Linked DNA regions of Homo sapiens: regions 1, 2, 4, 5, 6 and 7 are each linked to region 3. The links are contacts of gene promoters, found by promoter capture Hi-C in blood cells and fetal thymus (Javierre and others, 2016). All regions are on one chromosome and are shown on one strand. Each heading gives the region's core, a stretch centred on a gene start or on the middle of the fragment in contact. The rest is flanking DNA. Distances are from core to core; before and after follow the strand shown.

Region 1 (3,233 bases), core at 235-2,734, 2.3 Mb before region 3:
TTGGATGGAAATAGGCCCTTTTCTGTCTTACTGTGGGCCCGCTCTGAAAATGTAGGATAACATAGGGCTGGGTTGTATGGTGGTTATTAGGGTGGGGTGCGGTGAATTCTGTGGGAAAAAGTCGAATGGTTGTAAGACATTTTCTCAGCCAGTGTTAACGAAGCCATCATTTACTACTCACCCATATAAAAGTCACTGACAAACCAATTGAGTTACTTCTAATTTAGCCAGAGACAGCATAGTTCCAGAAGGAAAGAGGGGTGTTCCTACACACAGTAAATTGCATATGTTGTTATTTCAGTGGTTGTCAGTGATTTCCTCTGAAAAATCTCTCTTTTTTTTTGTTTTGTTTTTGAGACAGGTTCATGCTCTGTTGCCCAGGCTGGGGTGCAGTGATGTGATCACAGCTCACTGCAGCCTCAAACTCCTGGGCTTAAGTGATCCTCCTGCCTCAGCTCCCCAAGTAGCTGGGACTACAGGTATGTGTCACCACATCCAGCTAACTTTTGTGTTTTTTGTGGGGATGGGGGTCTCGTGTTGCCCAGGCTGGTCTTGAACTCCTAGGCACAAACTGTCCTCCCTCCTCGGTCTCCCAAAGTGCTGGGATTACAGACATGTAATCCGTTCATTAAAAACCCAGTAATCCTTGCATTGTGCTAGATATTACATTGTGCTAGATATAACATGTACAGGCATGTAATCCCAGCAACCTTTCTCTTTCCCAAGATGGAAGAGTTATTTAAAAAACATTGCAGACTGGGCCAGACACGGTGGCTCACGCTTATAATCCCAGCACTTTGGGAGGCCGAGGTGGGTGGATCACCTGAGGTCAGGAGTTTGAGACCACCCTGGCGAACATGCTGAAACCCTGTCTCTACTAAAAATACAAAAATGAGCCGGAGGCAGTGGTGTGCGCCTGTAGTCCCAGCTACTCGGGAGGCTGAGGCACGAGAATCACTTGAACCTGGGAGGCGGAGCTTGCAGTGAACCGAGATCACACCACTGTGCTCCAGCCTGGGCGACAGAGCAAGACTCTGTCTCAAAAAACAAAACAAAACAAACAAACAAAAAAAAAAACAGCAAAAACCATTGCAGACTGTAAAGAGTAAGTAAATAGGTGAGCAATACCTACTTTTGTTTACCTTTTTTAAAATGAACAATTTGTAGATATTCACAGAATGCAAATACTTGTTAATAAATGAAAAGCTTGGGAGACATGAAGTTGGCCTCATGCCTTTTTTATACACAGTGATAATGATCAAAATAATTTAAATGTCCTTTGAAAATAAATTTAATAGTCTTCCAACTCACAGAAATAATAAAAAACTTCAGAACTTGTATAAGTTTTTTTTTCAAATATTATCCTTATTTACTTAATACCTTACACTTACTCTGTGCTGAGTTATTGCAGATCCCTAATAATATAAAATGTTGTCTTCCAGTTCTTTGACTGAGGTACAGGGTTCATTTTCTATAATGAAATGGCTACTACCCTTTGTCTTAGACAATGATAGTATCATGACATGGAAATGCATAGCAGATACTGGCAGAGGAGTTGAACTCAGCAGAATTTTCAGTAAGAAGTGTTCAAATCCATCTTCATTTCTCTAACCATGCAAAATTTAACAAACGAAAAAAGACATGGGTACCTCATGAGCACCTATTTTGTTTATTCCTTACCCAGAAGTTTTTCTCCTTTTCTTGGGCTCTCATTGCCTTTTTTTTTTTTTTAAGTTGCCTCGTTTCTTATTTCCCACCACATAGAAGCTTAAGAAAATCAAAGCTAATTCTGCCCCCTCAACTCCCACCTCAGTAAAAATGAAACAAGGAACATGCAAAGGGAAGTGCTAGGTTGCCATCAGTAGAAAGAAGAACAAATAAGTGGGCATTTCGACTTCTAAGAATGGAGGCAAAAACCTCATACTTTGCATAAGGGGTCTGTGCGGCCCTTGCTCACATTAAGACGTCGGGCGCCACCTTGTGGCCGACAGGAAGGAGGTCAGCTTCCAAGAAGAGGCCAGTAGCTTTTCGGTGACAGAGGCAGGAGGCAGCTGGGACACCTGAAGCTGGGATCGTGTCATGTGACCTGACAGCTCTCACGTAGGCGGAGGCGGGCACAGCGTAATGAGAATGATCAATATTTCTGTCAATAGCATCTTTCTTTTTGAGGCTCCGTCGGATTAAAGAATGAATCAAAGTTAAATAAAAACATGGGAAAGACTAAAGAGGGACATAAAACCTTTTTTTTTTTTTTTTTTTTTAAAGAGAGATGGTCTCGCTCTGTCACCCAGGCTGGAGTGCAGTGGTGCAATCACAGCTCACTGCAGCCTCTACTTCCCAGGCTTAGGCGATCCTCTCACCCCAGCCTCTTGAGTAGCTGGGTGGACAGGCGCGGACCACCAGACACAGCTAATTTTTGTATTTTTTGTAGAGATGGGGTCTTACTCTTGCCCAGGCTGGTCTCGAATTCCTGGGCTCAAGCGATCCACCCACCTCGGCCTCCCAAAGTGCCAGGATTACAGGCGTGAGCTATCACGCCTAGCCTCAAAACTGTTTTCATAACTGCATTCTTTAAGTGCAAAAAGCTGAAAACAGAATAAGGGCAGAAAATAATCACTCAGAGTCTGCAAAAATGTCCCTCCCCTCTGTGCCAGAGGTCAAGCGTTTTACTCTCGGCCTCTCTACTCTGTGTCTTTTGCCCTGACCAGCCCGTGAATGCCCTCCTGTAGGGCCCCATCTGCAGCGGCTATGAGCGGTGTTGTCATCATTGTCCCTTGGCTTGTCATTTAGAACATCTTTCTTTCTTCGCTATCTGACCCAACAGCTCTCATGTACTTGACTCTCCTTCCTGCTCCAGAGAAACCACATAGATGGGAGCCGAATGTACCCCAGGGAAGGAGAGAGCCCCAGGGACCCTCTTTGCTGAGGTCACACAGCTTGGAGGCCTCAGGGTCAGCATTTAAACCAGTGTTTGTTAAGCTGGAGTCGGAGAATCAGTGCCCTAGCATCTGAGTTTTCTGCAAGCATTTACGATTTTTTGTGCTTTCATATTTGATGATAGACTACAAAACAGAAGCATACTCCAAGTCACCTTATAAACCACAGTCGCCATGTGGCTGAAGAGTCTCCCTGGATTTCAGTGCCTGTGTGGGGCTCATTGCCTAATGGACAAAGAGCCCAGGTGGGTGCTGTAGCTACACAATGCCTTCTAGCCTGGTGAAGGCCATGTGACT
Region 2 (2,959 bases), core at 370-2,869, 2.6 Mb before region 3:
AAGAACTTTATTAATCCATGGCATAGGAGAGGCTAACAAGGCAGCTGCTGTCTCTAATACTAGAAATACTCTAAATTTGTATAGGATGTGAAACAAAGGATCCAGCTCTGGGCAGAAAAAGAAAAACAAAAATCCTAGAGCTTTCACTGCAGTTCACTTGTATCTTTGATGATTGACAACAGAATCAGTTTATTAACCATCATCTCCTACATTATGTTGTATGGCTTCATATAATCATCCAAAACAAGTTTCACAAACTTTCAGTTCTACACAAACAAAAGGGCTTCATATTTATATTTTTTTATATAAAATTTTTATACTTTTAAATATTTATTGTACACATCTGACAGAGCTTCTAACTGATGGGTTTTCATTTGTTTGTTTATTTTGAGACAGTCTCACTGTGTCACCAAGGCTGGAGGGCAGTGGTGTGATCTTGGCTCACTGCAACCTCCACCTCCCAGGTTCAAGCAATTCTTTTGCCTCAGTCTCCTAAGTAGCTGGATTACAGGCATGCACCATCATGCCTGGCTAATTTTTGTATTTTTAGTAGCAACAGGGTTTCACCATGTTGGTCAGGCTGGTCTCAAACTCCTGATCTCAAGCGATCTGCTGATCTCGGTCTCCCAAAGTGCTGGTATTATAGGCATGAGCCACCACGCCCGGCCTTCCTTATGATTCTTGAGAGTCAGGAGACAAAGTCAGGGTGAAATGTTATGAAAAAGAGGAATATAGCAGAAAGCAATCTGAGTAGGCGCTTTTGATTTTAGTCCAATCAGAGCCAATAATGAGTCATTTAATCCATAAGGTATCTAAAACATTTTGGAAAGACACACTTTACTGAATTGTACCTGGATAAACAAAAGTTTCAAGTGATTGCTTTACAGTTTCTCCTTAATTAAAATACATTTCTTTCTTGAAAATAGATTAATCTTTCTGATTTCACATTTTCCCTTCTCAGAGTTGCAGGGGGAGGGGATTGTAGTATTGTTTTCATATCCAGATTATTCCTTGTGATAAGGTTCATGGTTTTGCCAACTAGGGGGCTTGACAACCTAATTTCAAAGCTTATTTGGGCCAGGAGTAGTGGCTGATGCTTGTAATCCCAGCACTTTGGGAGGCTGAGTCAGGCAGATCATTGGAGGCTGAGGCAGGCAGATCGTTTAAGCCCAGGAGTTCAAGACCAACCTGGGCAACATGGCAAATTTTAGCTTGTGTGGTGGTGCATGACTATAGTCCCAGCTACTAGGGAGGCTGAGGTGGGAGGATTGCTTGAGCCTGGGAGGTCAAGGCTGTAGGGAGCTGTGAGTGTGCCACTGCACTCCAGCCTGGGCGACAGAGTGAGAACCTTTCTCAAAAATAAATAAAATAAAATAAAATAAAATAAAATAAAATAAAAGCTTATTTGGTGAGCATGGACTTACTGAGCAAAAGGAGCTGTATTTCTGTAAGGGATATTTTCATCATGTTGCATCACCTCCTTCATTAGAGCTTTCTAGACCAACCATACAACAGGGCAGTCTTCTTTTCTCTCTATCAAGGGAACCAGACAGACAAATTCTTCCTTTCATGCTCCTCCAAAATGGATGGCCACCATCACACTTTCCCCAGAGCAGCAGGGTATAGTGCTGCTGTTTGCCTGCTGTCTAAGTGCTCTCTATTTCTTAATTGTAAGATAACTTGATTTATTGATTATAGGTTTGGTGGATGCACACACACATCCAGTATGGGCTGGTGAAAGAGTTCACGAATTTGCAATGAAGGTAACTGCAACAAATCATGGCAAATCAAAATAAAGCACAAATATGAAGTCTTTTGCTGAAGAGTTAGTAGGCTATCAAGCTTTGCAACATATGTCAACATATTTTTTAATGGATATTTTTACTTGCTTGGGTATGGGAAACAAATGACAACAAAACTTATTTATAACTGCCCCAAATCATTGTATTATACACAGGGCTATTCCTGCCCACTAATGTCTCCCTCTCTTTCCTTCCCCACATTCCCATTCCAAATCGCTATCTCTAGTAGCTTTTGAAAGGGCTCCAAGGAATAGTTTGAAAATTGCCATTCATTGGAGTAAAGCTTGGAAAAATATGTTACTAATCACAAAAATAAAATACCTTAATTTTTCTGTTATAAACTGAGACTTATTAAGAATCACAAAATGTAAGCTGTGTTAGTCCTATATTAGCTGTAACCAACTCCTAAATCCCTGGTTGGAGAGATTTTCACATGTGTTTTTTAAAAAAGAAAAAAAAAGATGTGCCTCCTAGCAGCTAAACTGGCTTATTTCAGGAAAAGAAAAAAAAAATTCTTTTCTTCAGCTATCATGTACCTGCTTCAACAAACTAGAGCTGTTTTTAAGATTGTTTTATTAAATCACAGAATTTCAGAGCCAAAAGCAGTCCAATCCTCTCATTGTATAGACGGAGAAAGAGATTTACAGTCCAATCCTCTCATTATGTAGATGGAGAAAGCTGGGTCTAGAGAAGGGAAGAGTGTTGACTAGCGTCACCAGCTGGAGGATGGCAGAACCCAGATGAAAACTCCGGCCAGGAGACCCCAGGCCTGCATCCTTTCTCTGCACCACACTCCTTGCTGCCCAGAGTAACTGGAGCCCAGTGGGACCCTAGAAAGAGCCTCTTTGAGTGACAAAGATCAAGCTCCAAACTCGGATGGCCAAATATTGAGACAAGGAAACTTCCTGGGGCCGCTTTAGTGGAGATCTGAATAATTGCAATGGGGTTCCCTGCAACTCCTGAATTGCCTAAGCTTTGTTTTCTCAAACAAGCTGAGGGATGGAGGGAGGGCTGATACTTAGCAAGTACACATTGCGGGTTGATTGACTTGTTAAAATATTGCAATACTCCTGTGCCAGTTTTGTTTTGTTTTGTTTGTTTGTTTGTTTTTTGAGATAGAGTCTCGCTCTGTCACCCAGGCTGGAGTGCAGTGGTGC
Region 3 (3,272 bases), core at 90-2,589:
TGATTTTTAATTTGCATTATTGAGCTTAATACCATTGCTTAAATGTATGTGAATACTGAGATTTTTATAAAGGAATTAGTTACCTCTAGGAAAATAATTATCACTAAAAGAAATAATATCGCAATTTGAATAAAAGTAAGTCGCTTAAATCATAGGAAACATTTTTAGTGAAGGCGTTTGTTTTAAATGTATTCTAACCTAGCAATGTAGAAAGCAGGCAAACATTTAAAAAAAATTTAACCAGTTTCTAAAACATAGTTTGGAGCTCAGATTCTGGGGAAATGATTAACACACCCTACATCCAAGGTCTCCTTTCCTTTCTAGAAAGAAAGCATCTTTAAACATACATATTCATCAGAAATACAAATATTTGTCATCAGTGATACTAATTTCCAGGCAAACATTTTAATTGCAGTCAATGTATTAGATTCTACCAGGTTTTAATTTGGATCGGTAATACGGGTTTGATTAGGGTTCTAGGCCTAATTATAGGTCACTAGTCTTCCTTTAGGATTATGCACCATCTGTTATTTTAAATTGACCATTGAGGGGGTTCCCAAGGGTTCTCCTTCGTTTTGTTATCAAACGTTAGGTTTAGGATTCTTGCGGGTGGTGGGATCCAAAGCCAGAGACGGTTTCAACAAAAATGCAAGCGCGAATTTGTCTTGCGTCTGAACGCACTGTTCAAATTAAACAATTTAGACATGCCCCAACTATGACACTAAGAAGTGAATGGTATAGTACACTTTTGTCACAAATTCAAGGGTAATTTAAGTGCCCGATTGTAGAGGTCTGGCTTCCCCTGGGTTTCTGGAACAAAAGAAGCGTTCGCGAGGAGAGGGGTAACTCCCCGCCCTCCCCCTCCCAAAGTAAATCAAATCAAGGAATATGAGTGCCTGCAGACAAGCCTCGCTTCTTTTCTTCCCCTTCAGGGCTAGCGTTTGGGGAAGGCAAGGCTGCGGCTACTCTTGGAGCTTCAGTGTCCCGGGAGGAAGAAAGGCCCAGCCAAGGGTCCTCACACTGGCGTGGAATTCGGCGCGTTCGTAGGCGATCGACCCCAGAGACGAAAGCTGCTTCTCAAGCTGGGGGAGGGAGAGGAAACGGCGCACAAAAGCAGTACGACCTGTCCCTTATCGGCGTCTAAGGGGAAGGGTGGAGAAAACGAAAACAGAAGCGGGCCGGGAGCCTCGGCTCCCGCCCCAGCGCCTTTTAAACTGCGTTTCTACCTCCTCTCGCTCAGCGCGGCGGCTAATGGAACCCGCGCGAGCCGTCTCGCCAATCACCGCCGCGCTTCCTCCCGTCGCCCGCCAATGGCGGCGCGCGTTCTTGGGGCGTGGGCGAAGCAGGCTGCTCGCCTCCTGCCTGTAGTGTGTGGGCTGGGGTTGGTGCGAGCTTCCAGCTTGGCCGCAGTTGGTTCGTAGTTCGGCTCTGGGGTCTTTTGTGTCCGGGTCTGGCTTGGCTTTGTGTCCGCGAGTTTTTGTTCCGCTCCGCAGCGCTCTTCCCGGGCAGGAGCCGTGAGGCTCGGAGGCGGCAGCGCGGTCCCCGGCCAGGAGCAAGCGCGCCGGCGTGAGCGGCGGCGGCAAAGGCTGTGGGGAGGGGGCTTCGCAGATCCCCGAGATGCCGGAGTTCCTGGAAGACCCCTCGGTCCTGACAAAAGACAAGTTGAAGAGTGAGTTGGTCGCCAACAATGTGACGCTGCCGGCCGGGGAGCAGCGCAAAGACGTGTACGTCCAGCTCTACCTGCAGCACCTCACGGCTCGCAACCGGCCGCCGCTCCCCGCCGGCACCAACAGCAAGGGGCCCCCGGACTTCTCCAGTGACGAAGAGCGCGAGCCCACCCCGGTCCTCGGCTCTGGGGCCGCCGCCGCGGGCCGGAGCCGAGCAGCCGTCGGCAGGGTAAGGACGCGGGGCCGGGGCTACAAAGGCGGGCGTTTGGCGGTTGCCGCGCGCGCTCGCCGCCGTTTGCAGCCCCTCCCTCCCGGGCGCCCCCTCGGGCCTCCCAGGTGCGGGGCTGTCCCTGCGCCCCCTCGCGTCGCCCCTTCCCCGCGGGGCTGCAGGCGCCGGAGCGGAGAGGCCAGAAGTTGGGGCCGCGGGGTTCGCGTTCTTTGACGTGTGGGTCTGGGAGGTGTGGAGTTGCGTTGGCGGCGGTTGTTTTGCACGCAGTCGACGCCGCTTCCCTGGACCACCAGCCGCCTGCAGCGGGCGTTTAGACGGGGACTTCCGTGCCCTTTCGAAAGCTCTGGAGGGGTGGCCCCAAAATGCTATAGGTTAAGTTCGAGCGTTTTCCCGCTTTATTAACTGAAATGACTCGCAGCAGAGTCTCAGAGCGCTCCCTGGAGGGCAACTGATGACACTCTAATTTCTAACCAAAATTTGAAATGAGGAAATTCCCGCCTTTTTATACTTTTGCGTGTGGAGGGCTTTTTGAACCGTTTATGTTTTCTAGTTTGTTTTAATTTTTCCCAGCAACAGGCCATCTTTTGGCGGAACAGGTTCATGCCGAATTAAAAGGAGCATTTTAAACTATATTTTTAGGCGCCTATTATAATTTTTTAGTTTTTATTTATTTATTTTTTTAGATGGAGTGTCGCACTTGTTGCCCAGGCTGGAGTGCAATGGCGAGATCTCGGCTCACCGCAACCTCCACCTCCCGGGTTCAAGCGATTCTCCTGCCTCAGCCTCCCGAGTAGCTGGGATTACAGGCATGCGCCGCCACGCCCGGCTGATTTGTGTATTTTTTAGTAGAGACGGGGTTTCTCCAAGTTGGTCAGGCTGGTCTCGAACTCCTGACCTCAGGTGGTCCTCCCGCCTCGGCCTCACAAAGTGCTGGGATAACAGGCGTGAGCCACCGGGCCCGGCCCTGCAAACAAATATTTGAAAATTGCAGTTTGGATTGCGTTTTCCCCACATATTGGTAAATTTTGCTTGAGGAAACGAAAGACTTAGGATTCAGGAAAAATTTATTTCATGACATTCTGGTGCATCAGTATTGCAATTTGGAATGTCTGATCCTGGTTAAATCTCAAATCGGCTCCAGCAAAGCATGTTTTGTTTCAGAATAGTTTGCTTTTTTACCTGTGGATTTTAATATGCTTTTTGTGGGTTTGCTTATGCCTGCCGAGTTACCAGGCTTCAAATCGTAATAGGATGAAGCTAAAACTAGTAATTGGTGTAACATAAAATGCCTTGTAAGAGACAGTGAATGTGGTGTTTGGAGTTGTTGGGAATGATCACTAGTTTAAACCGAAATTATTCCTTCCTTCAAATTTTAC
Region 4 (2,952 bases), core at 293-2,792, 2.5 Mb before region 3:
CCATTCTCCTGCCTCAGCCTGCCGAGTAGCTGGGACTACAGGTGCCCGCCACCATGCCCGGCTAATTTTTTGTGTTTTTTTTAGTACAGATGGGGTTTCACCATGTTAGCCAGGATGGTCTCGATCTCCTGACCTCGTGATCCACCCATCTCGGCCTCCCAAAGTGCTGGGATTACAGGTGTGAGCCACCACACCTAGCCCTGAATTCCTTTTTAAAAGTCAGATTGGTTTCCATTTCCTTTTTTTCACAGTTAAAATGTTTAAAACTGCCTTTAAAGTAGAGATTCAGAATGAGTGCCACAGCCTCTTTGTTTACATATTTCAGGTAGAATTTCATTAAGAAAAATAATTCTAGCTCTAGGAATTCAATTATCATCTCTGCTTATCATTTATACCATATTTACTGATATGCATCATTTAATTGAGTTAATAATTCGTAATATTTACCTCTGCAGTATAGGTTAATTTCACAGAAGGAGTGTCCTGACAAGGAAGGATTGCTCTGCAGTGGATGGCCTGAAAAAGGGAGAAACAAGAAGAAATAGCTATTTATCTTTCGCATAAGTCATTAAGAAATCATTAAAAATTGCAGCATTGTTCTTAGACATTAAAATAAAAACAGTCCTCATTTCTTGGGATTTTTTTTTTTTTTTTGAGACGGAGTTTCACTCTTGTTGCCCAGGCTGGAGTTCAATGGCATGATCTTGGCTCACTGCAACCTCCACCTCCCGGGTTCAAGCAATTCTCCTGCCTCAACCTCCCGAGTAGCTGGGATTACAGGCATGTACCACCACGCCCAGCTAATTTTGTATTTTGAGTAGAGATGGGGTTTCTCCATGTTGATCAGGCTGGTCTCGAACTCCCAACTTCAGGTGATCTGCCCACCTCGGCCTCCCAAAGTGCAGGGATTACAGGCGTGAGCCACCACGCCTGGCCTTTTGGGATCTTTTAAAGTCCAAAAATAGATTCTTGGACTTTTAAAAATCAGATTTTCCATTTTAATCTATGGTTAACCCTCACATTTCAGTTGAAGCATGGAGAAACTCTTAAGCAGTGTTTCCTACTCTATGGTCTGGGTGACAGTAGTGCCCAGTGAGAAGCTTTTAGAAACCTGAGAAAAAAGGGCTCTGTAGCAAAACAGACCTGAGAAGTATGGCATACTGCACCACTGTCTTGCAGAGCCACTAGAATATTAGCCGCCTGAAGGCTCTGAACAGACCTACAATAAAGAAACCTGTTTGATTTCTTACATTTATGTTAACACAAAACCCATTTCTCTCTGGTTTAACACCTAATGGGATGTCAGTATTCTAATGAACACAGCCTGAGAAATGTTGCTGTAATCCTGACACTTCAATCTTGCAGCAAACCTTGTAAGTAAAACAAAGAAGCAAAGAAGGGAGAAAGAACAGTCTCTTTCAATACCATCTAGACATATTCATTCATATCATATGCAAAGTGTTTCTGTACTGCCACACCAATCGTTATTAACATTGGTTCCATCCAGTATGACCACAGGCCAGGTGCCGTGGCTCACTCCTGCAATCCCAGCACTTTGGGAGGCTCAGATGAGAGGATTGCTTGAGCTCTAGAATTTGAGACCAGCCTGGGCAACATAGTGAGACCTTACCTCTACACAAAAAAAATTAGCTGGGCATGGTGGTGCACACCTGTAGTCCCAGCTACTCAGGAGGCTGAGGTAAAAGGATCGCTTGAGCCCAGGAGTTCTAGGCTGCAGTGACCCAAGTTCGCACCATTGCACTACAGCCTGGGCAACACAGCAAGACCCTGTCTCCAAAAAAAAAAAAAAAAGAGCACCTACAATCTTATACCCGGTCTGTTTACAAATAAGTCTGTCTACTGCTGGTGAACAATGAAATGAAAACCCAGCCTCATTGAGACAGTCTACTAAACTCAAAGGAATTCTGATATTAACACCCTTCTCTGAAGCTATTACAAATCCTAAACATACTTCATTCCACCACAAGCTTTCTTAAAACCCCCAAACTCCAGGTCTTTTCATTTCAGTTCTAGAAAATTCTCCAAAGATATAGGCTCCCAAATGACCTCTAGATGGATTAAGTAGGACTAGCAGAGCCACCTGGTTCTCTCTCCCAAAATAGATTTCCAAGACCATGCCTCTATAGTTCCTTAATGGTTTCTAGTTAGGTGACATGGCAACACCAAAGGGGTTTTTAAATGTATTTCATTGGATAAGGCCAAACCCAGGCAAATATGCATACAGAACAACCGTAAGCAAATTCATCAAACAAAATCATGTCTACATGATTCCTATCACCTCAATCATTTATTAATTTAGCTGAAATCTGTTTCCCATATTCCCACCATTGCTGCCAATAAGAAATGGAATAATATATTCAAAATTAACATTTTCATGACTCATAAATCTTGCATTTCTTGCCAACTTTGGTTAATAGACATTCTATTAAGACATACTGCCTGAAAATCAGATATTTATGAGATACAGATTGTGCAATTTGTACACTCTTGCGTAGAACATTTCATCTCTTCTAGATTATTAAACTGAGGGTTTCTTAGATTAAAAAGATGTTTCAAGTGGCCATAGAAAGTAAACAGGTCTGATTCATATGCTAATTCCTTTTTTAAATGGACTTGTATTGAAATTTGAACCTAACACACAGGAATATTGGGAGGGATGAAACATGTAAAGAATCTAGCACAATGCCTGGAAATAGAGCAAACGTTTAATGAAGTCAGTTCCCTTAATTGTAAATTATTTGATTACTATGAAAAGTAGGTATTTTTTCTTTCAGAAGACAGTTTGAAATGTATTATCCTTGTGACAGGTTATCTCTAATTGTATGGCTCTTTACCCTTAGTTTTAAAACAGAAAACAAAAGTAGTTTAAGTCATGCAATTTTAAAGGTACAGTTAATATATTGATATAATACATACTTTTGTAAATGTGTA
Region 5 (3,162 bases), core at 572-3,071, 2.3 Mb before region 3:
TGCTGCTCTCAAATTATTTTTAGGGATTTTTAAAAAATGTGATCATGAATCTCCAATGACTTAGCTTTTTCCACCCTTAAGGAGTTGGTCTTGAAAGGCCCGACCACCTCTTCCCCATCTTTGCCATCAATGCACAGCGTGACATCCTGCCCTTCACAGTATTTCCTGAGCTTCCTGTAACTGTCTGATGCTGCCCGATTTAAAAAAAAAAAAGACTGCAGTTTCCTACAAAGCCTTGTCCAACACCTTCTAGGATCAAAACAAAAGATAAAATACTTGATTTTCTTGATCTACACGTTTAAAATCCAAAACAGTTGTTTGCACAGGAACTCTGGGCATCATTGAAAGGGAAAGGGCCAAAGACCATTTGTACCTTTCTGAGCATGTCAGATTTATAGCATGTACGAAGTGATTTTGACCGGCAGCTGGTTGGTACACATTCTCATTTGTATTCATCCTGAAAACTATGGCAATGTCTCACCGTTTCAGGAGTTGTGACACTTTACCACTACATATTTACCCTCCCTTCCTTTCTAAAGGTACGATGTGGATTCAGGGTGGGTGTGAGGGTACAGGGTGTTACTGAATTTCGATCATTTTTTAAATTTAAAACTCTGAAGCTTGGAATCAGTTTTAATTCCCCCCGAATGTCATTAATTCTTCTTCTTCATGATTGTTCACATATCTCAATTAGTATGGTATAACATCATTTACAAAACTGTATTTTACATCATTTCTTCTATTATGGACTGATTGATTCAACAAAAATTTTTAGCACTTTCTTGGCAGGTGTTAGGGATATAGAGACGGGAATGCATAGTGGAGCGAGTCATAGAAATAAGTCTAAGCTGTAAAGTTCAAACACGGTTCTGTGGGGGATGTAGGAGAAATGGGCCATACATTTCATCTGGTGAATCTTGGAAGACTTCTTGGAGGAGCTGAGGTTTAAGCCATGTCTAAAGAATGAGTAAGACATTTACAAGGGTTTCATGAAGAGAGAGGGTGTCTGGATGGAAATATGGAGACATAGAGTTTCCTGGGCTCAACCTCAGACTCCAAGAGGTGAGGTCCTGGAGCACATGGTTCTGATGTGTAACCAGGGTTGGGAACCAGCAGACAAAGGCTCAAGTCTGTTCAGAGACCAGATTGCAGAGAAAATCTTGAAATGCCATCTCAGTGTCTGGGACAGTGAGCACCAGCTATTCTCCACCTCTTTGGAAGACCGAATAAGGGGAATTAAATGAAGCATGAGCGTTTGGTTTTCTTTGAAGCTGAGGTTCCTGGACGTGAAGTGCATTAAAGACACGTAAGATTTTTACGTGATGTGGCAAGCAAGGGCCTTGTCTGGAATGAGAAAGAAAATGCAGTTAAAAATCCAAACCAAAAAACAGCACAGAATCTCTTTTGCCTACACCAGCAGTTGACAAACTTTTTCTATAAAGAGCCAGAAAGTAAATATCTTCAGCTTTATGGGCCATATGGTCTCTGTCACAACTACTCAAGCATGCTGTTATAGTGCAAAAACAGTGTTAGACAATATGTAAATAAATGAATGTGGCTGTGTTCCAATAAAACTTTACTTAGGGACACTAAATTTGGATTTCACATAATTTTCACATGTTACAAAATATTATCCTTCTTTTGGCTTGTTTTCAAACATTTAAAAATGTAGATTCTTATTACTCACAATGGCCAAGAGGTAGAAGCAACCCAAATGTCCAAAACAAATGAATGGATAAATAAAATGTGGTATGCACAAACAATGGGATAGTATCTAGTTCTAAAAAGGAAGGAAGGCCAGGTGCAGTGGCTCATGCCTGTAATCCCAGCACTTAGGGAGGATGAGGTGGGAGGATTGCTTGTGTCTAAGAGTTCAAGACCAGCCTGGGCAACATAGCAAGATGCCATCTCTACAAAAAATAAAAAATTAGCCAGGTGTGGTGGTGGGCACCTGTAGTCCCATTTACTTGGGAGGTGGAGGAGGGACGATCACTTGAGCCTGGGAGGTCGAGGCTGCAGTGAGCTGTGATCATGCCACTGCAGTACTGCCTGGGTGACAGAGCAAGACCCTGTCTCAATAATAATAATAATAATCATAATAAAATAAAAAGAAAGGAAATCCTGTCGCATGATCAATACGGATGATCACTGAGGACATTATGCTAAGTGAAATAAGCCAGTCACAAAAAGATAAATATTGTACAATTCCATTTATGCAAAGTATCTAGTCAAACTCATAGAAACAAAAAGTAGAATGATGGTTGCCAAGGGCTGGGGAAGGGAAAGATGGGGGCTCGTGTTTAATGGGGATAGAGTTTCAGTTTCATAAGATGAAAAAATTCTGGAGGTGAGCTTCACAACCACATGAATCTACTTAACGCTACAGAATTAATTATACACTTAAAAATAGGACGGTAAATTTGATTTTTTTTAACCACAATTAAAAATAAAAAAGAAAAGGCAAATACTTCTTCACTCAAAAGTCATACAGAAACAGGCAGTGGGTTCTGTGGACTGACTGCAGTTTGCCAAGCTCTGCCCCATGAGTGGCCTGTGTGAGGGCAAAAAAGACGGTCCAAGTCAATATTTCTCAAATGTCCCTCTGAAATACCTCTAACAACACAAAAGGGAGACCGCAGACTCCAACAGGGGGCTGCCTACAAGTCTATACAACTCTTTTAAATACGCTTTTAAATGAACATTTAAGAATCTTAGTCCATAACACGTTATTTTAATGTAAAATTGGCATTCAGTGGAAACATCAGTAAAAACTGACACTTGTTCCAGCCCAGAGAAGGTGAGTGATTTAGTCAAGGTCCCATAGTTAGAACAAGTCAGGTATGGGACTGGATTCCCAAATTCCTGATTCCAAATGTACACATTCCACCAGAGTGGGCTGTCTTACCATCAGGCTTTGGCTGTTCATTCCCAGCCCTACCTCCTAGCCCCCCAGTATTGAAGCAGTCTTCGAAGGTAGTGATGGCAAACCCTTTTGAGCTTCTATCAGAAATTCAGCAATTCATAAGCTTCGAACATTATTTATTCCGCTTGGTTTACTGTAAATTTTAGTTTGGTTTATTGTAAAACTAATTTTCTTCTCCCGCTCTGTTTTCTCATCCATCTGTAATTTTTTTCTTTACTTTTGATAGCATCCCATTCTGT
Region 6 (2,829 bases), core at 51-2,550, 2.5 Mb before region 3:
AGTTGAAAAACTACCTATTGGGTACTATGTTCATGTTCACCATTTGGGTGACAGTTCAGCAGAAGCCCAAACCTCAGCATTAGGCAATATATTCATGTAACAAACCTGTACATGTACCTCCTGAATCTCAAATTAAAATAATACTACTACTAATAAAGACCAAAGTATTTCAGAGGGAGGAAGAATTTGCATGGTGAAATTTGCGTAGTGAAATTGGCATCCATATGGTGCATAAGGGATATCTTTGGATCTTCTGAATTACATTATATACATTTTTTAAATTAAAATAAATTCTAAAAATGTGGAAGCAGTAATGATGCAGGGTGATGGGTGAAGGCTAAAAGAGTTTTGAGATACATGCTACAAAAAGCCAAGGTTGCTGTGAAAAAATTGCTAAAGATGATTCTGGTGAGGACTCAAAAAGAGCTTCTGTCTTCCTTCTTTGAGGATGCGTAAACAATCGTGAACAGAATGCTAGCAGAAATATAGGTGGCAAAGGCTATTCTGTGAGGCCTCAGATGGAAATGAGGAACATGTTATTGGACAATGGAGAAAATCCTTTTTATAAAGTGGCAAATAACTTACTGAATTGTTTATGTTCTAGTGTTTTGTGGACGGTAGAACTTTCAAACAATGAAATTGGATAGTTGGCTGAGGCCATTTCTAAGCAGAGTGCTGAAAGAGCAGCTTGGTTCCTCTTGACCACTGATAGTAAAATTTAAGAAGAGAGAAATGAATTGAAGAAGAAATTGTTAATCAAAAAATAACCAGCACTTAAAGATTTGGAAAATTCTTAGCCTGTCCTTACTGCAAAAAAAATGAGAAACCATGTTCAGAAGAGTTAGGCCAAGCATGGTGGCTCCTGCCTATAATCCCAGCACTTTGGGATGCCAAAGCAGGCAGATTACTTGAGCTCAGGAGTTCAAGACCAGCCTGGGCAACATGGTGAGACCCCATCTCTATTTTAAAAAATAAAAAAAGAAAAGAAAAGAAGAGATTATTAAGAGTGTGGCTGGTCACCCATTTGATAAGGAGAGTAGTGTGAGTATCAACCATGGACCTAATCAGCCATCTCAACAGAAGCCAGAAATAGAGTTGGGATTATTCCAGGAGAAATAATGCTTTAGTCCCCTGCCAGTTGGGACTAAAAGGAAAAGAGAAAACAAGATGGAATGAAGTAAGGCTGTGAATATGCAATCCCCTTCAGGAAAAGAGAGGAAGGATCCCAAAGGCAATTCAGACATCATCAGGGCTGCTACTCCCACCACAGGCCCAGAGTGGAAAGGCCCCTGGGAACAAGGCTACCTCCATCTTGGTTTCAAAGAGTGGGACTGCTACTCAGCACTCATGTGGGTGTGGCCCTCACAGACAGCCATGTGGGCAGTGCTACACTGAGCTGAAGAAGCAGGGACACCCCACTGAAAGATGGGGGTGATACCTTCCAGTGGTTCTGGAAGGGAGGACCACCACCCCAGTGGGCCTACAGGGCAGAGCATTCTTTGAGCCAAAGAGGATTGTATTTCAGTTTTAAAGCCTAATGAAGTTTGACTTCTAGATTTTGGATTTCTTGGTACTTGTCACCCCTTTCTACCTTTCAATTTCTCCCTTTTGGAATAGGAATATCTATCCTGAGCCTGTTCCATCATTGTATTTCGGAAGCACATAACTTGTCTGGTTTCACAGATTCACAGTTGGAAAGGAATTTTGCCTTAGGGTGAATTTTGAGTCTCACTCATATTGGATTTACATGATATTTAGATGAGACTTTAAACTTTAGAGTTGATGCTGGAATGAGTTGACTTTTGAGACTGTTAAGATGGAATGAATGTATTTTAAATGCAAGGAGGATGTGAATTTTGAGAGGGACAAAGGGCAGAATATTATGAACTAAACGTTTAAGTCTCCCCCAAATTCATATATTGAAGCCCTAACCCCCAATGTGAGGGTATTACGAGGTGAGGTCTTTGGGAGGTAATTAGGTTTGGATGAGGTCATGAGGGTAGATCCCTTGTGATGGAATCAGTGCCCTTATAAGAAGAAGAGAGACTAGAGCTTCCTCTCTCTGCCATGTGAAGATACAGCAAGAAGGTGGCCATCTGCAAGCCAGGAAAAGGGGCCATGGCAAACACTGAATCTGCTCACAGTCTGAACTTGAACTTGTCAGCCTCCAGAATTGTAAGAAATGAATATCTGTTGTTTAAGCCACCCAGTCTATAATATTTTGTTTTGGCAGCCTTAGCTGACCCAGGCACTCACTTATGCTTACATTCTAACTTCTAAATTAAGGCTGCAATATATGAAACATGATCATAGAACTTGTAATTATCTGAGGATCCAGAAAAATCACGAGCCTGCACAAGGTTTATCCAGAGGCAGAGGAAATACCAGTTCACTGAGAAAAATTAAAGGGACAGTAGAAGAATAAAATATAGTTGTTTATAATTGTATGTTACAAATTATGTTTGTGAAGCCAGTTACATAAATAATCTTAAAGATTTAATAGTTTCTGCCTGCATCCAAATAATTGCCATGTGCCTATGTCCATACGCCTATGTCCATACTACTTTGGAAACCTCTAATGAATGAATGTGTAAAGTTTGGATGGGTATTTGAGAGGGAAAATACTTCTTATGAGGTTGACAGTTATAAGCAAAGTTAGGAACAAAAAGCAAATTCAGAAAAAAACTCATCTTTTGTTATGGTCTAAATGTTTGTGTCACCCCCAAAATTTATATGTTGAAATCCTAACCCCCAAGTTGATGGTATTGGCAGATGGGGCCTTTGGTGAATGGAATTTGTGCTCTTACAAAAGGGACTTCAGAGAGCTTG
Region 7 (2,849 bases), core at 287-2,786, 2.4 Mb before region 3:
TGGGGGAAAATGTATCACAAAAGCGTTTCCTGGTCCAGAAAGTAAACCATTGAACTTGATCCGACTGGTAAGTGAGTGATCAATTATTAACTAAGTTTGGAGAAGTGGGAATTCCCTCTAATCCCTGTGGTTTGCTGGATTAAATAATGTTGCACACAGATCTAATCGTTTTGGCTCTACAGTGAGCTCTGCCAGCCAGGCTCCATCCTCAACCCTGTCCTCTCCTCTGTCCAAACTCACTCCGTACTGTTCTCATCCAGTCCTAAGGCTTCAGATAGTCTTCATATACCAACGGCCCTTCAGGCTAATGGATAATCCCATTACATTTCCGTGATCCTATTACTCTCCCACTTTCCCAAAGGACGATCTCATGCTTTCCCTTTCCTCAAACCATCAATACATCCTTCCCCAATGTGCTGCACTAAGAACCTCACTTCCTATTTTCTGGAGAAAACAGGAGCAATCAGAAAAAACTTGCACCTGCTTCCAGCACATCTAGCAGTTCCTGTGTCCTTCTATGCTACTTTCCCTCCAGTGACCATGGTCCAGCGGTTCCTGTGCCTTTCCAAGGTCAGTTCCTTCACTTGGAGAGTAGATTCCAACTCTTCTACCTACCCAGGAATGTCACTTGCCTCTTTTCTCCTGAATTCATCCTTTCCCACCCTATCAACTTATTTACAATAAATTCCGTTAAAAAAAGTCTTCCTTGGGGCCAGGCGCAGTGGCTCACGCCTGTAATCCCAGCACTTTGGGAGGAAGGCTGGTGGATCACTCAAGATCAGGAGTTCGAAACCAGCCTGGCTAACATAGTGAAACCCCATCTCTACTAGAAATACAAAAAATTAGCCTGGTGTGGTGGCAGGTGCCTGTAATCCCAGCTACTTGGGAGGCTGAGGCAGGAGAATTGCTGGAACCTGGAAGGTGGAGGTTGTAGTGAGCTGAGTTCGCACCACTGCACTCCAGTCTGGGTGACAGAGCAAGACTCTGTCTCAAAACAAACAAACAAAAAACTTACTTGACCCCACATCTCCCTTCAGCTATTGTCCCACTTTCCTGCTCCTCTAATGGCAAAAAGACTTGCCTCCTTATCCTCTCCTGTTCTTCTCTCATGTATCCTTTTTATTTACACCTTCATTTCATCAAACCATCAACACCAGCTCTTGTCAAGGTCACTATGACCTTCACTTGGCCAAATGCAGTGGTTAATTTTCAGCTCTTATCAGACATTCAGCAGCACCAACTCCATTGCTCACTCCCCTCAACACTCCTTCCCAGGGAGGACAGGGAATTTCCGTAATAGCTAAATGTCTTCAACCCAGGGAAGATTTAGAATTAAATATAAAGGTGATGGAGTATGTCAAATCTGTAGGGTTAAGTCTTTTAAAAATATACATAAATTTTGAAAATAATCCATATGTTTGATATTTTAAGCACTTAAATGTTTAAATGAATTTGGCATATTGAACAACTTGATATACTGAGGGTTCTTTTTTTGTTTTTTTGTTTTTTGAGACGGAGTCTCACTCTGTCACCCAGGCTGGAATGCAGTGGCATGATCTTGGCTCACTGCAAGCTCCACCTCCTGGGTTCATGCCATTCTCCCGCCTCAGCCTCCCAAGTAGCTGGGACTACAGGCGCCTGCCACCATGCCTGGCTAATTTTTTGTGTGTGTGTTTTTAGTAGAGACGGGGTTTCACTGTGTTAGCCAGGATGGTCTCGATCTCCTGACCTTGTGATCCACCCGCCTCGGCCTCCCAAAGTGCTGGGATTACAGGCATGAGCCACTGTGCCCGGTCAAGAAATTTTTGTAAGAGAATTACAAAAGAATCTGTAGGCCAAGTGGGGTGGCTCATGCCTATAAACCCAACACTTTGGGAGGCCAAGCTGGGAGGATTGCCTGAGGCCAGGAGTTGGAGACCAGCCTGAGCAACATAGCAAGACCCTGTCTCTATAAAAAATATTAAACAGCAGAAATACACACACAAAAATAAAAATAAAAAGTAAGTTTTGGAATATATAAAATAATTTGAACCTTTTATGCTATATTTATAAGTATAATATTAGTTTTACGAAAATGACTAAGGAGTCAGGGTTTTTTCTTTTTAGTTAATTTGTAGTCAGCTTCTTAATGTAAAAGGTAAGCACGCAAACCTGGAATCTGGGGCACAGTCTGTTTTATTGGAGGATTTGCTTAAGGGTTGGTTCCACTCAGACTTAGTTAATTAAACAACTTCAAGGGTTTTTAACTGTGTTTATAAATTTAATATATTTTATTTGGTTTTCAGTGACAGCTAGTTCAAAAAGTAGCCCACATATTATTAGCTATATGACTGTGAGAATTATTCTGTATACCTCAGTTTCCCTGTATATGCAACGGAGATGATAATAATATAAGATATTCGCTAGAAGTGATACGAGAATTAAAGGAGTTAATGGTGTAAATTTTTTTTTTTTTTTTTTTTTTTTTTTTTTTTAAGATGGAGTCTAGCTCTGTCACCCAGGCTGCAGTGGTGCGATCTTGGCTCACTGCAACCTCCACCTCCCAGGTTCAAGCAATTCTCCTGCCTCAGCCTCCTGAGTTGCTGGGATTACAGGCCATGCCACCACACCTAGCTAATTTTCGTATTTTTAGTAGAGACGGGGTTTTACCATGTTGGCCAGGCTGGTCCCGAACTCCTGACCTCAGGTAATCTGCCTGCCTCGGCCTCCCAGGGTGCTGGGATTATAGGTGTGAGCCACCACACCCAGCCAGTTTAGGACAGTGTCTGCCCATGGTAGGGGCTGTAACTGTTAGGTATCACTGAAACACAAATCAAATAAATTTACAAATGCAGTTTAAAACGCTTACA

What was found. Contacts are between HindIII fragments. The CHiCAGO score rates a contact against its expected background, and 5 or more counts as called.
Region 1: a contact is called between a fragment that was not itself captured here and the fragment with the promoter of TMPO in region 3, in 6 of 17 cell types (fetal thymus, naive CD8 T cells, activated CD4 T cells and 3 more). The highest score is 11.4, in fetal thymus.
Region 2: a contact is called between a fragment that was not itself captured here and the fragment with the promoter of TMPO in region 3, in 2 of 17 cell types (M0 macrophages and monocytes). The highest score is 7.0, in M0 macrophages.
Region 4: a contact is called between a fragment that was not itself captured here and the fragment with the promoter of TMPO in region 3, in 2 of 17 cell types (naive CD8 T cells and total CD4 T cells). The highest score is 7.6, in naive CD8 T cells.
Region 5: a fragment that was not itself captured here is called in contact with the fragment with the promoter of TMPO in region 3 in 4 of 17 cell types (total CD4 T cells, naive CD8 T cells, activated CD4 T cells and 1 more); the score reaches 8.4 in total CD4 T cells.
Region 6: a contact is called between a fragment that was not itself captured here and the fragment with the promoter of TMPO in region 3, in 6 of 17 cell types (activated CD4 T cells, total CD4 T cells, naive CD8 T cells and 3 more). The highest score is 11.5, in activated CD4 T cells.
Region 7: a fragment that was not itself captured here is called in contact with the fragment with the promoter of TMPO in region 3 in 2 of 17 cell types (non-activated CD4 T cells and total CD4 T cells); the score reaches 10.3 in non-activated CD4 T cells.

What each region holds. Positions count from the first base shown.
Region 1 is chr12:96,213,390-96,216,622 of GRCh38, forward strand. The region is part of intron 1 of ELK3 (ETS transcription factor ELK3); the gene reads left to right. Among named protein-coding and RNA genes, the nearest start is that of ELK3, 21 kb to the left of the region's middle. The HindIII fragment of the contact is 561 bases long and covers 1,205-1,765 here.
Region 2 is chr12:95,953,213-95,956,171 of GRCh38, forward strand. It overlaps AMDHD1 (amidohydrolase domain containing 1), which reads left to right. Exons shown (of 9, transcript NM_152435.3): 3 at 1,699-1,763. Among named protein-coding and RNA genes, the nearest start is that of AMDHD1, 11 kb to the left of the region's middle. The HindIII fragment of the contact is 442 bases long and covers 1,399-1,840 here.
Region 3 is chr12:98,514,251-98,517,522 of GRCh38, forward strand. TMPO (thymopoietin) reads left to right here and starts at 1,340. Exons shown (of 9, transcript NM_001032283.3): 1 at 1,340-1,896. The coding sequence starts at 1,618. It overlaps TMPO-AS1 (TMPO antisense RNA 1), which reads right to left and starts at 1,976. Exons shown (of 2, transcript NR_027157.1): 1 at 1,741-1,976; 2 at 1-1,647. RefSeq lists enhancers at 960-1,039, 1,300-1,489 and a silencer at 1,830-2,099. The HindIII fragment of the contact is 4,246 bases long and covers 1-3,272 here.
Region 4 is chr12:96,024,032-96,026,983 of GRCh38, forward strand. LTA4H (leukotriene A4 hydrolase) reads right to left here. Exons shown (of 19, transcript NM_000895.3): 4 at 448-516. Among named protein-coding and RNA genes, the nearest start is that of LTA4H, 10 kb to the right of the region's middle. The HindIII fragment of the contact is 888 bases long and covers 1,099-1,986 here.
Region 5 is chr12:96,186,653-96,189,814 of GRCh38, forward strand. No RefSeq gene overlaps it. Among named protein-coding and RNA genes, the nearest start is that of ELK3, 6.1 kb to the right of the region's middle. The HindIII fragment of the contact is 2,406 bases long and covers 619-3,024 here.
Region 6 is chr12:96,050,572-96,053,400 of GRCh38, forward strand. LOC124902990 (a long non-coding RNA gene) reads left to right here and starts at 2,077. Exons shown (of 2, transcript XR_007063413.1): 1 at 2,077-2,175; 2 at 2,773-2,829. The HindIII fragment of the contact is 8,479 bases long and covers 1-2,829 here.
Region 7 is chr12:96,112,916-96,115,764 of GRCh38, forward strand. No RefSeq gene overlaps it. Among named protein-coding and RNA genes, the nearest start is that of LINC02452, 58 kb to the right of the region's middle. The HindIII fragment of the contact is 6,765 bases long and covers 1-2,849 here.